3 separate regions of the Homo sapiens genome follow, and regions 2 and 3 are each linked to region 1. The links are contacts of gene promoters, found by promoter capture Hi-C in blood cells and fetal thymus (Javierre and others, 2016). All regions are on one chromosome and are shown on one strand. The core of a region is centred on a gene start or on the middle of the fragment in contact, and the rest is flanking DNA. Distances in the headings are between cores, read along the strand shown.

Region 1 (3,255 bases), core at 1-2,500:
TGTGACGTACTGGGTTTTTAGCAAGCATTTTTTAGAAAACACTTTCTCGGTGTAATTTATAAAGTTATATAAAATTTGTCAATACCTGCTTTGTTGCAGCGTGTCTTAAAAATTTCAAAAAATGTTGGCCTCTCTTTGGATCCAATAGGCATTTTTACCTACGATATTCCTCCAATGCTTGGTAAATAAGTCTGCAAAACAGAAGACCAAAATGCACTTACACAGGGATGCATTCCTTATTATGTGACTGAGGTAAAACTCAGAAGCGCTGGAAAATTTGTTTGAATTCTAATTCAGTCCCATCTCCTGGAACGGTAACAGCTTACTGTGAGGATGGGAACATTTTACAGCTGTGCTGTCCAAACCGGTGCCACTAGCCACATTAAGCACTCGAAACGTGGCTAGTGCGACTAGAGAAGAGGATTTTCATACGATTTAGTTTCAATCACGCTAACCAGTGACGCGTGGCTAGTGGGGACAGAGGGCTCCAGTTAGAGACCAACGCCGCCTGGTAATTCCCATCAGCATGTCTTCGGAATACAGCAATTACCAGGGGCTTAAGTAAGGCAAATACAGCGTGCCCAGCAGCTGTAAAACACTTCCCCAAAACAGCAATATTCCGTTAAAGTGATCGTGTTTCCAAGAAATTTCAGATGGCGTCATCTGGGACAGCTGGGAGGGAAGTTAAGTCTTGAGCTGAAGGCGGAGCCCAAAGGCCGGGCCGGAGGCGGGAAATGGAGACCCAGGGAAGGGGCGGGGCTCGAATTTGCTTGGCGAAAATCTGCCTTCGGGCAAGGACCTTTCTCTCAGGCATGGGTGGGGGTTGGCAGAGACAAAAGGGCAAGAAGCCGCGGCAGCGACCCGGGGCGTGAGGCGCTCCCCCGCCACGCTGGACTGGGACTGCGGAAGACGCGCTCGTCCCAACCCACTACCACCACCACTAACCCGCTCCAGAGGTGCAGTTCTTTTTTGGCCGGAGTAAGCTGACAAAAACCGCGCCGGTCACAAATCTGTCCCCTCACGCTTCTCCCGGCGGCGACCCACCGCCGCAAAAGACACCCGAGGCGCAGCAGAGGCGCAGCAGTGCCACAGCGGCTCCGCCTCTGCCGCCTAGTTTCAGAAGCTCGCGCCACAAGCCCGCGCTGGCCACGTGACGCCGTGACGCGACACGCAGCACACGCACCACCCGGAAGTCAGGCCTGGGTGGGCCGCTGCGGGTATTTCTCAGTGTGGCGAAAGGAAATTCCTTGTCAGGCATCCCAACCGTCAGTATCTGACCGAATAAAGCGGGAGCTGGAGTGTGTGTTCTCTTCTCGCTGACCCTTAAGAGTCCCAGGCCACCCTGCTTGGAGGGGCCGCCCCTATGCCTACTCCAAGTCCCCCATCCCTTTCTTTTTGCTCCAGCTCATGTTTGGGTGGGCGCCCTCGGGACACGACCTGGGACCTATGAAATACCTTTGTTCTGACCTTAAAAGGGATGTTCTCTCAAGACCTGTTCCCCAAAGCGAGCCGATCTTACAAAAGCTTAGAGTGGTCGGTGTGTGGTTGTGGATGACTTCACTTAGTGGTAGTGGGCGGGGCTGTTATTTGAAATCAGAGGATTTTAGTTCCAGTAGCTGTTCTGCTATTGGGTAGCAGGTGTTCAAGACCTCCGAGCCCGTTTCCTTGCTTGAAAAATTGTGAAACCCATCTTAACTCGCTCATGAAGTGTGAGGTACCTTGCTCCGCAGGGCTTGGTAGTATCTTTTGCTTTTTTTTTTGAGACGGAGTTTCGCTCTTGTGGCCCGGGCTGGTGTGCAATGGCGCAATCTCCGCTCACCGCAACTTCCGCCTCCAGGGATCAAGTGGTTCTCCTGCCTCAGCCTCCCGAGTAGCTGGGAATACAGGCATGGGCCACCACGCACGGCTAACTTTGCATTTTTAAGTAGAGACGGGGTTTCTCCGTTGTTGGTCAGTCTGGTCTCAACCTCCCGACCTCAGGTGATCTGCCTGCCTCGGCCTCCCAAAGCGCTGGGATTACAGGCATGAGCCACCACACCCGGCCCATCTTTTGCATTCTTAGGATTCGGATCACCTGTCTTCCTCGCAGGCTGAACTGGAAGACCTGACTTCATCTCCGAATTCGTTGGTTCTGTAACATGCCTAATACAAGGCTGAATAGGGTTTGTTGTAAGACCTACAAAACCTTCAAATGGATTCAGTGAGAGTTGCTCCCATGGGGGCCTTGCTGCTTCCAGAAGGTGCTTGAGCAGTAAACAGAAGCAACCTTGGATTAGGAAAAGGGTGGGCTCCGCTTGGTTCCTTAGGGACCATTTTAGTTTGATAATCAGTAATCCTTAGTTGTAGAAGGAGGCCTTACTAATGCAGATAGATTCTAAAGCTTTTGCTCTAAGTCTAATTCGCAAAGAAATACGTCTGTGATCCTTACTAATAACAGCTGCCACTTACCAAACATTTTATGAGTTAGGCATTCTGCTTTGGGTTTTCAAGCAATACCATGTTTAATCTTACAGTAATCCTGTAAATTGGTCAGTATTGTCAGATGAGGATACTGAATCAAGTAGTTAAGTAATGTGCCTGGTAGTAAGGCCCAGGTTTGAATTCTAGTCCATTTGACTTCATACACTTAACTAACCTGTGATTTATTTACCCTATAAATCAGAACAATATGCTTTGTCCCCTTTTTGTGGGGGAGGGGTGTCTCACTAGGAGTGGACTAATGAGAACCCGTGGCATGTCACACAAGTCTCAGAAATAACATTTTCTGTCATTTTATACAGCCCCCCATACCTTTATGTTTCTTGTTCTCTTTGTACCAGGGACTTGCAACTTATTAGCTCCACCATAATAGACTTTCTCACCTATTCTCTTCTAGTGCAGCTGCTCAATTTACTATTTGTATTCAATTTACAATATGCTTTAATTTTTCTTAAAAACATTATTTCCAGCTGGGCATGGTGGCTCACGCCTGTAATCACAGCACTTTGGGAGGCCAAGGTGGGCAGATCACCTGAGGTCAGGAGTTCGAGACCAGCCTGGCCAACATGGCAAAACCCTGTCTCTACTAAAAATACAAAAATTAACTGGGTGTGGTGGCATGTGCCTGTAATCCCAGCTACTTGGGAGGCTGAGGTGGGAGAATCACTTGAACCCCAGAGGCGGAAGTTGCAGTGAGCCGAAATCATGCCACTGCACTCCTGCCTGGGAGACAGAGCAAGGAAACTCCATTTCAAACAAGCAAACAAACAAAAACCC
Region 2 (3,250 bases), core at 246-2,745, 4.0 Mb before region 1:
GTAGTTTTAAAAATTGATGATTTTAGATATTAAATTGGTATTTAGATTCCACTGGCTACATTTAAAAGTTATATAACTTTTATTTTAAAATGTTAATTTATAATAAAACAGAAGTTGCTTCTTTTGTAACTATTTAAGTCAGATGAGAAATTGTGATGGTCAATCCAAAAACGTGGAAGTGAGAATACAGTCATAGTCTTTGGGGACTCCTTTGGGGGTATAAGAGCAAAATCATTTTGAAACCACTGTATTAATATATTCCTAATAGGTTTTGCTTTTTGGGATGACTGACTGCTACCTTTCTGAGATTTGAGGGAGTCACTTAACTGGTCCTAAGGCCAGGCGCGGTGACTCACGCCTGTAATCCCAGCACTTTGGGAAACTGAGGCAGGTGGATCGCTTGAGGTCAGGAATTCGAGACCAGCCTGGCTAACTTGAGGTCAAGCTTTCAAGACCAGCTTGGCCAATATGGTGAAACCCCGTCTCTACTAAAAATACAAAAATTAGACGGGAGTGGTGGTGCACAGCTGTAATTCCAGCTTCTCTGGAGGCTGAGGCATGAGAGTCGCTTGAACCTGGGAAGCAGAGGTTGCAGTGAGCCGAGATCATGCCACTGCACTCCAGCCTGGGCAACATAGTAAGACTCTGTCTCAAAACAAAACAAAAACACAACAACAACAAAACTGGTTCTAAATGCTCCGGGCAAGTACATACTGCTTTTTCTTTTTTCTGTTTTTTTTTCCCTAAGGCAGCCCTATTGAAGAGTCTGTCATCTACAATATTTTACTAATTTAAAAACACTTGTCAAGAAGGGTAAAGTATGTTCATCTTGATTTTACTCTTTGTATCCCGGAATCAGGAACTAACAGTTTTATGATAGTGATATAGACTTTACACACACACCAAGACTTAAAACACGTGGTGCAGGCGGGCTTTTGGAAATTAACTGTGCTCTGGATACAGAAGTCACAAAGCTCAGGCTGCAGAGACATTGAGGGGATAATCAGCCTTTATTGTCTCTCGTGCACTGTGCCCAGCGCTCCCTCTAGCGGCTACAAGCGCTCACTGCCCACACTCTCTACTAGGCTCTCCGGAGGCCTCGGTTTCGCTGGAGAGAAAGAGATTGCGCAGGCGCCGAGCAGCCGACGTGGCCGCAGGGGACCGTGCCTGGGGGGGTCTGCGCGGGGCCGCTGACTCGCGAGGTTCTCTGTCGCCTGCCGCCCTCGCTCCTTTTCTCCCCTTCTAGAGTGTTACGGTGACTCTTGGGTCCGAAGGGGACGGACGTCCTCCCACGTACCATTTAGAAGGTCAGAGTGGGCAGAACCTAGTCTGAGCAGGCCGGTGATGAATCCGCTGGCAAGACGCGCGCGTGGGTACTCACGTGACCTAGGCTGCGGCGGCGGCGTGCTGCGGGCTCTGTGGCGGGAGCGAGGCCGACGGGCGGGGCCGCGCGGCCGCGTGACGCGAAGCGTTCGAGAGCGCGCGTCGTGGAACGTCTTGGTTGCCACGGCAAGCGCGCGCGCGAGGCCTTGGGAACCTCGGGACCGGCCCCCGGCGAGCGCAGCGGCGCCCAGTGTAAGGGAGTGGGAGCTGGTCCGTGCCGCGGCGGCCGCGCAGGGAGCTCTCGAGGCAACGCCGGGGCGCCCGAGGTCTGGAAGGCGCAGGTGGGGCGCGGGGGAGTTCACCCCTGCGCGGTCCCTTGGGTGGGCGGGGTGGGCGCCCCAGGCCCCGCGGACTCGGCTGGGAGGCTGAGCGGGCGACGGTCACGGGACAAGGGTGGAGGGGGTGGGGACCTCATCCGAGTCTCAGAGATGGAATTTTCGAGGAAGGGAGCGATTTCGAGAGAGAATAGTTTGAGAAGTTGTTCTCAGTCCCTTCTCTCGCGGGAGTGTGGTATTTAGGGAAGCTTCGGCCTCTTAACCCATGGACTGTTAGGATGGAGGGAATCCTTCCCGCTCGATTCCTATCGCGGAGTCCTTTCGGAGCATCGCTATTGATCATTCTCGCCGCCCCAACCCCGTTGTTTACTTTGGCTTCGCAGATCTCTGTGGTCTTTTGCCCTCCCGCAGCGCCCATGGCCCCGTCAAGGTTGGGCAGCCTTTCTCTGCAAGAAGGCCCACGAACAACTGCGGTTATATTGGGATGGATTGCGCGTGATTTTACTCTTTACAATACATTCTTTCATGCTTCCTAGGGATTGAGCTGCGCGGCGGATCCCTCCGACTTAATTCTGGGCCTGAGAAAAGTTTCTCTTGGAATGCGCAGTTTCGTGACGCAGCATTATTGCGTGACTCTAGGGCTGACCCAGTTTTTCACTTTCTAATTGTAAGGAAGTGCGCTAGTAGTCCACCGAGGATCCTCGAGGTTGGCCTTATTGTATCATAATTTAACGAATTTGCGTTCCAGGTTGTTACAGCCTTTGAAATAATGGCCTCATATTTAAGAATGTAGCAATTTTTCTTTGAAATTTCCGAAAGTGGGGAAAAAAGTAATAGAAGACTGCACCTATATGGAATTATTTTCTGATTCGCAGTTCTTTATAATCGTAGACTTAATTTGGTGGCTTTATTGGACCTGTTTGAAACAGGAAGCCTTTCTGTAATGTGGTTTCGGGTCGGCTTCACCTCTGGCACTCTCTGAAACGTCGTTGTCTATGGTTTCCCTAAGAAGCTAGAATGAGCGGGATGCTACGGAGGGAGGTGTATACAGGTGTTAGACAAAGCCCCCTCCGCTTTTTTGGTAAAGGGCCAAATAGGCATTAGATCAACTTGTGCTAGCTCTAAGGAGTTAAATGCGGTATTATTAAAGACTGCTTGTAATGTTGACTGTTAAGTGAGAGTGTTACTTCTTTCAGTGTTTATGGAATCGAACTAAATTGCTAGGTATTTTAATGCAGAATTTTACCTTTTCTCGGGTATTTTTTAAGACATACACAGACATACATGTAGTTATGTTGAAATAAATGTGTTTTATTAGAACGTTAAAAAATTAGAATTTAGGTGAACTACTGGTATCGGAACAGATTTTGGTTTGTTGTTGAAGACTGTACACTGGTGTAGGTACTGTTTAATACATCAGATTGTCATTTCAAAGACTTTGTCTTCTTAACTTTGAAAATTAAATAATGTGAAATAATGTGATAATGGTTTTTATCTTTTCAGGACACTTGATTGACACTTAATTGTGCTTAGGAATAGAATAGGCTTTTTTTTAAGTCACCATCCTCCAATCCTTATTTCTGTAAAATGTA
Region 3 (3,276 bases), core at 281-2,780, 4.5 Mb before region 1:
CTCCAGAACACTGGTTTTACCTTTGACTCAGTTCAAATCAAACAATCCAAAAGTTTTTTGAGACTTATACCCCATTATCATCCTTTTTTTCCCCCCTCAGGGGTACTAAGAAAAGGGGTAGTGAGAACAGGGTACTAACAACAAGGATACTGAGAACAAAGTATATTAAGTATTGGGGTAGTGAGAACATGAGAACAAGGGACTAAACATAGGGGTACTGGGAACAGAGTTGTAAGAAAAGAGTACTACGTACAGGGGTACTACAGACAGGCAACTGAGTATAGCAGTACTAAAAATACGGTACTAGGAAGAGGGTTAACAGAACAGGACACTAAAAACAAAGTACTAAATACAGGAGTATTACAAATAGAGGTACTGAGAACTGGGTACTGAGAACTGGATACTGAGAATAGAGTAGTGAAAACAGAAAGAGATGACTTTCTCAGAAGTACCAACTTCATCTAGGTTCCTAAGTCTCCTTTAGCGATGAACCAGACCGATCATTTACTCTATGTCCTTCCAGCCATATCCCAGATCTATGACAGCTCTGCCGATGTCACATTATTTTTACTGAAATTTCTGCACCTATCATGAGTTCAACAGAACTGTTATTGCTTTGCACATGTTGGTATAAACTTTAATTTAGGGCAAACACTCTAATTCTCAACCACTAACCCAGTCACTGCAAACCGGCCCATTTGGAAGTGGGGAGGCAGGCCCTGCAGATGCGGTTTGCGTTAAGATCGGGTTTCTTCTTCCACCTCCCATCCCCAGGCCTCAGCTAAGTCTGATACCTCGAGTTTGACGTTTCCCGCGCTGCCAGTCGAGGCAGTCCCACCGCAGTTCAGGGCCTGGTCGCTCTTCTTCTTTTTATACTTGTCCTTGTACATCTTGTTGCGGTGTTTCTTGCACATCCACGGTTTGCGCTGCTTGGCCACCTGGCTCGTGGTCTCGCTGCAGCCTTCGTAGGTGCAGGTCTTGCTCATGCTGCCCCCACCGCTGCCCCGCCTCCGGGCGCCCCCGCTGCTGCCCTCGCCCCCCGAGTGAGTCTCCTCGTCCTCTAGATCCTCCAAACTAGCCGCGCTCTCGCCTCCCCCCGGAGGGTCCGAAGTGTCTAACAGGTCCGCCTCGTCCTCCCCAGCCTCCTCTTCGCCATCCCCGGCCCCTTCGCACAGGTACCTAACGGGCTTGCCCGCCCCAACGCTGCCCCCGGGGGCCGCAGCCTCGTCCTGCCCAGCACAGGGTTGCATCACTAGCAGGGTGAATTGAGAGGCCGCGGCCGCCACCGAGGCTGGCGCCAAGGTGGGAGCCGCAGCCGGGGCTAGGGCCGCGGGGTGGGGCACGCCGCTGGCGGCGCCCGGCCCCGCGCCCTCCGCTACACCCTGCGCCTCCATGCTGCTAAGACCTGGCCGGGGTCCACGACCCCGGGCTTTTAGCACCTGCTTGGCCTAACGGCACTTCGCGAACCAAAGACTCAGGACACGCTGGGGTAAAAGGCGCCTATACCGGGAAGGCGCCCCGACTGCGCCTGCGCGACCGCAGCCTGCGCGTCAGCGTGTGTACGCCCGCGGGCTGTCAGGGAGCGCGGCGCCTCTGGGGGCGGGGCTGAGCGCACAACCAACGGGACTGACTGCGCATGTGCGGCCGCGGCCCCTTCGGCCAGCTGGGGGATTCGTAGACAGGGTCTGGGGGCTGTGTCAGGTGAAAACCTGCAGTGGCTGGCAAGGCAGCGCCGTTTTACCTGATCCTATTGTATCTAAAGCGGTTCAAAGTATCTTCTACAGGAGTTCCAGTATGCAAATTAGGATTGTTCCTGAGCGGTCTCACGACTTGTAGTGTTAGGATGCTAATTTTATTATTTCCCCCACAAACTGCCTGCAAGGGGAGATTTGAAGCTGGGATGCAGTGGTGTCACAGCCTAGAGTCACTAGCTCGCAGTCCATGAAGGCAGAGGTGGCTTATTTGAAAATAGTGGAGCGGAGAGGGATGGGCCACACCTTTGGCCGAGTTGTATTTGCATTGAGGGATAACTTTGTTTTTTTTCTCCTGGAAACTCACTTGATTGTTAGTACTTGCTCTTTGCTGTGGCTGCTGAGATAAGTCTTAACGTTTTCGTTTAACACAGTGAAAATGTGTGAAAAGGAATACTGAATGGCAAACGTTTAAAAAAACAATGAATGTTCTACCAGTTCTATCAGTTGCTGGGCAATTGCTGGTTGTTAAATCTTGGCTTGCCCAAATCCCAGGAGAGAAAATATCCTGCCGTATCCTGAACTGTTAAGTAGATGTTCTTTTTCCCTTCATCCTATTCTTTCGCCTAGTCAGATTTCCCATCCCACCTACCGGAAAGCAATGACTTTATTCAACAAACTATAAATCCATTCACACTAAGATGTTTGGGTGCTGACATATAGGTAGATCAGTTATGTTTTAAAGAGAGGCATATGGAAGGGAGAAGGTTTGGAATTAGAGCAACCTAGGTAGTACTTCCTGTGTGACTACAGCAAGTTCGTGACAGCCTCTCCGAGCCTCAGTTTCCTCATCAGTAAAGCCTGCAGTCGGTGGTGTGCTAGCGCCAACTGATGGTAACTGGTTGCTAAAATTTCAGGAATATAATTAGCAGAAAAATTAAACACTGCTATTATTAAAAGTCTTACTACATAAACTTACAATAAGATTATATTAAAAACAAAGGGTACAAATCTCAAAACTCTTCATTTTCTAATTATTTTATTATGTTTTATCATTATCTGTGCTTTTAAGGTTATTTATGTCTATTGTATCTGTATGCGGAAATATTATTTAGTGGTGTGTTACTGCACATTTTCCCAACTCTGCCTTCAGTATGTCATGTTGATTGCTTGAAATCAGCCACTTTTGGAGTATTTACACCAGGGAAATGATCAAATGCTACGAAGCAGGTTTACACTTATTGCTGATTGTCTCTGCACTTAAGAAAGTGACAGTGAAAATGTTAATGAAGATTAAATTTAAGGCCAGGCTCAGTGGCTCCCACCTGTAATCCCAGCGCTTTGGGAGGCTCAGGCAGGTGGATCACGAGGTCACGAGTTCGAGACCAGCCTGACCAACATGATGAAACCCCGTCTCTACTAAAAATACAAAAATCAGCCAGGTGTGGTGGTCCACACCTATAATCCCAGCTACTCAGGAGGCTGAGGCATGAGAATCGCTCGAACCCAGGAGGAAGAGATTGCAGTAAGCCAAGACTGTGCCACTGCACTCCAGCCTGGGCAACAGAGTGAGACTCCATCAAAA

What was found. Contacts are between HindIII fragments. The CHiCAGO score rates a contact against its expected background, and 5 or more counts as called.
Region 2: the fragment with the promoter of SPART here is called in contact with the fragment with the promoter of ZAR1L in region 1 in 1 of 17 cell types (naive CD4 T cells); the score reaches 6.3 in naive CD4 T cells.
Region 3: a contact is called between the fragment with the promoter of RFXAP here and the fragment with the promoter of ZAR1L in region 1, in 1 of 17 cell types (total CD8 T cells). The highest score is 6.3, in total CD8 T cells.

What each region holds. Positions count from the first base shown.
Region 1 is chr13:32,313,358-32,316,612 of GRCh38, reverse strand. ZAR1L (zygote arrest 1 like) reads left to right here and starts at 1,250. Exons shown (of 6, transcript NM_001136571.2): 1 at 1,250-1,298; 2 at 2,063-2,283. It overlaps BRCA2 (BRCA2 DNA repair associated), which reads right to left and starts at 1,105. Exons shown (of 27, transcript NM_000059.4): 1 at 946-1,105; 2 at 86-191. The coding sequence starts at 152. RefSeq lists an enhancer at 446-715, a promoter at 824-1,320, a cis regulatory region at 1,649-1,715 and a silencer at 1,834-2,054. The HindIII fragment of the contact is 7,545 bases long and covers 1-1,526 here.
Region 2 is chr13:36,344,639-36,347,888 of GRCh38, reverse strand. SPART (spartin) reads left to right here and starts at 1,495. Exons shown (of 9, transcript NM_015087.5): 1 at 1,495-1,664. It overlaps SPART-AS1 (SPART antisense RNA 1), which reads right to left and starts at 1,458. Exons shown (of 5, transcript NR_045181.1): 1 at 1,382-1,458. RefSeq lists a silencer at 1,597-1,646. The HindIII fragment of the contact is 1,461 bases long and covers 448-1,908 here.
Region 3 is chr13:36,817,476-36,820,751 of GRCh38, reverse strand. RFXAP (regulatory factor X associated protein) reads right to left here and starts at 1,530. Exons shown (of 3, transcript NM_000538.4): 1 at 795-1,530. The coding sequence starts at 1,394. It overlaps LOC124903158 (a long non-coding RNA gene), which reads left to right and starts at 1,681. Exons shown (of 2, transcript XR_007063760.1): 1 at 1,681-2,585. RefSeq lists enhancers at 723-952, 963-1,012 and a silencer at 1,243-1,612. The HindIII fragment of the contact is 8,641 bases long and covers 1-3,276 here.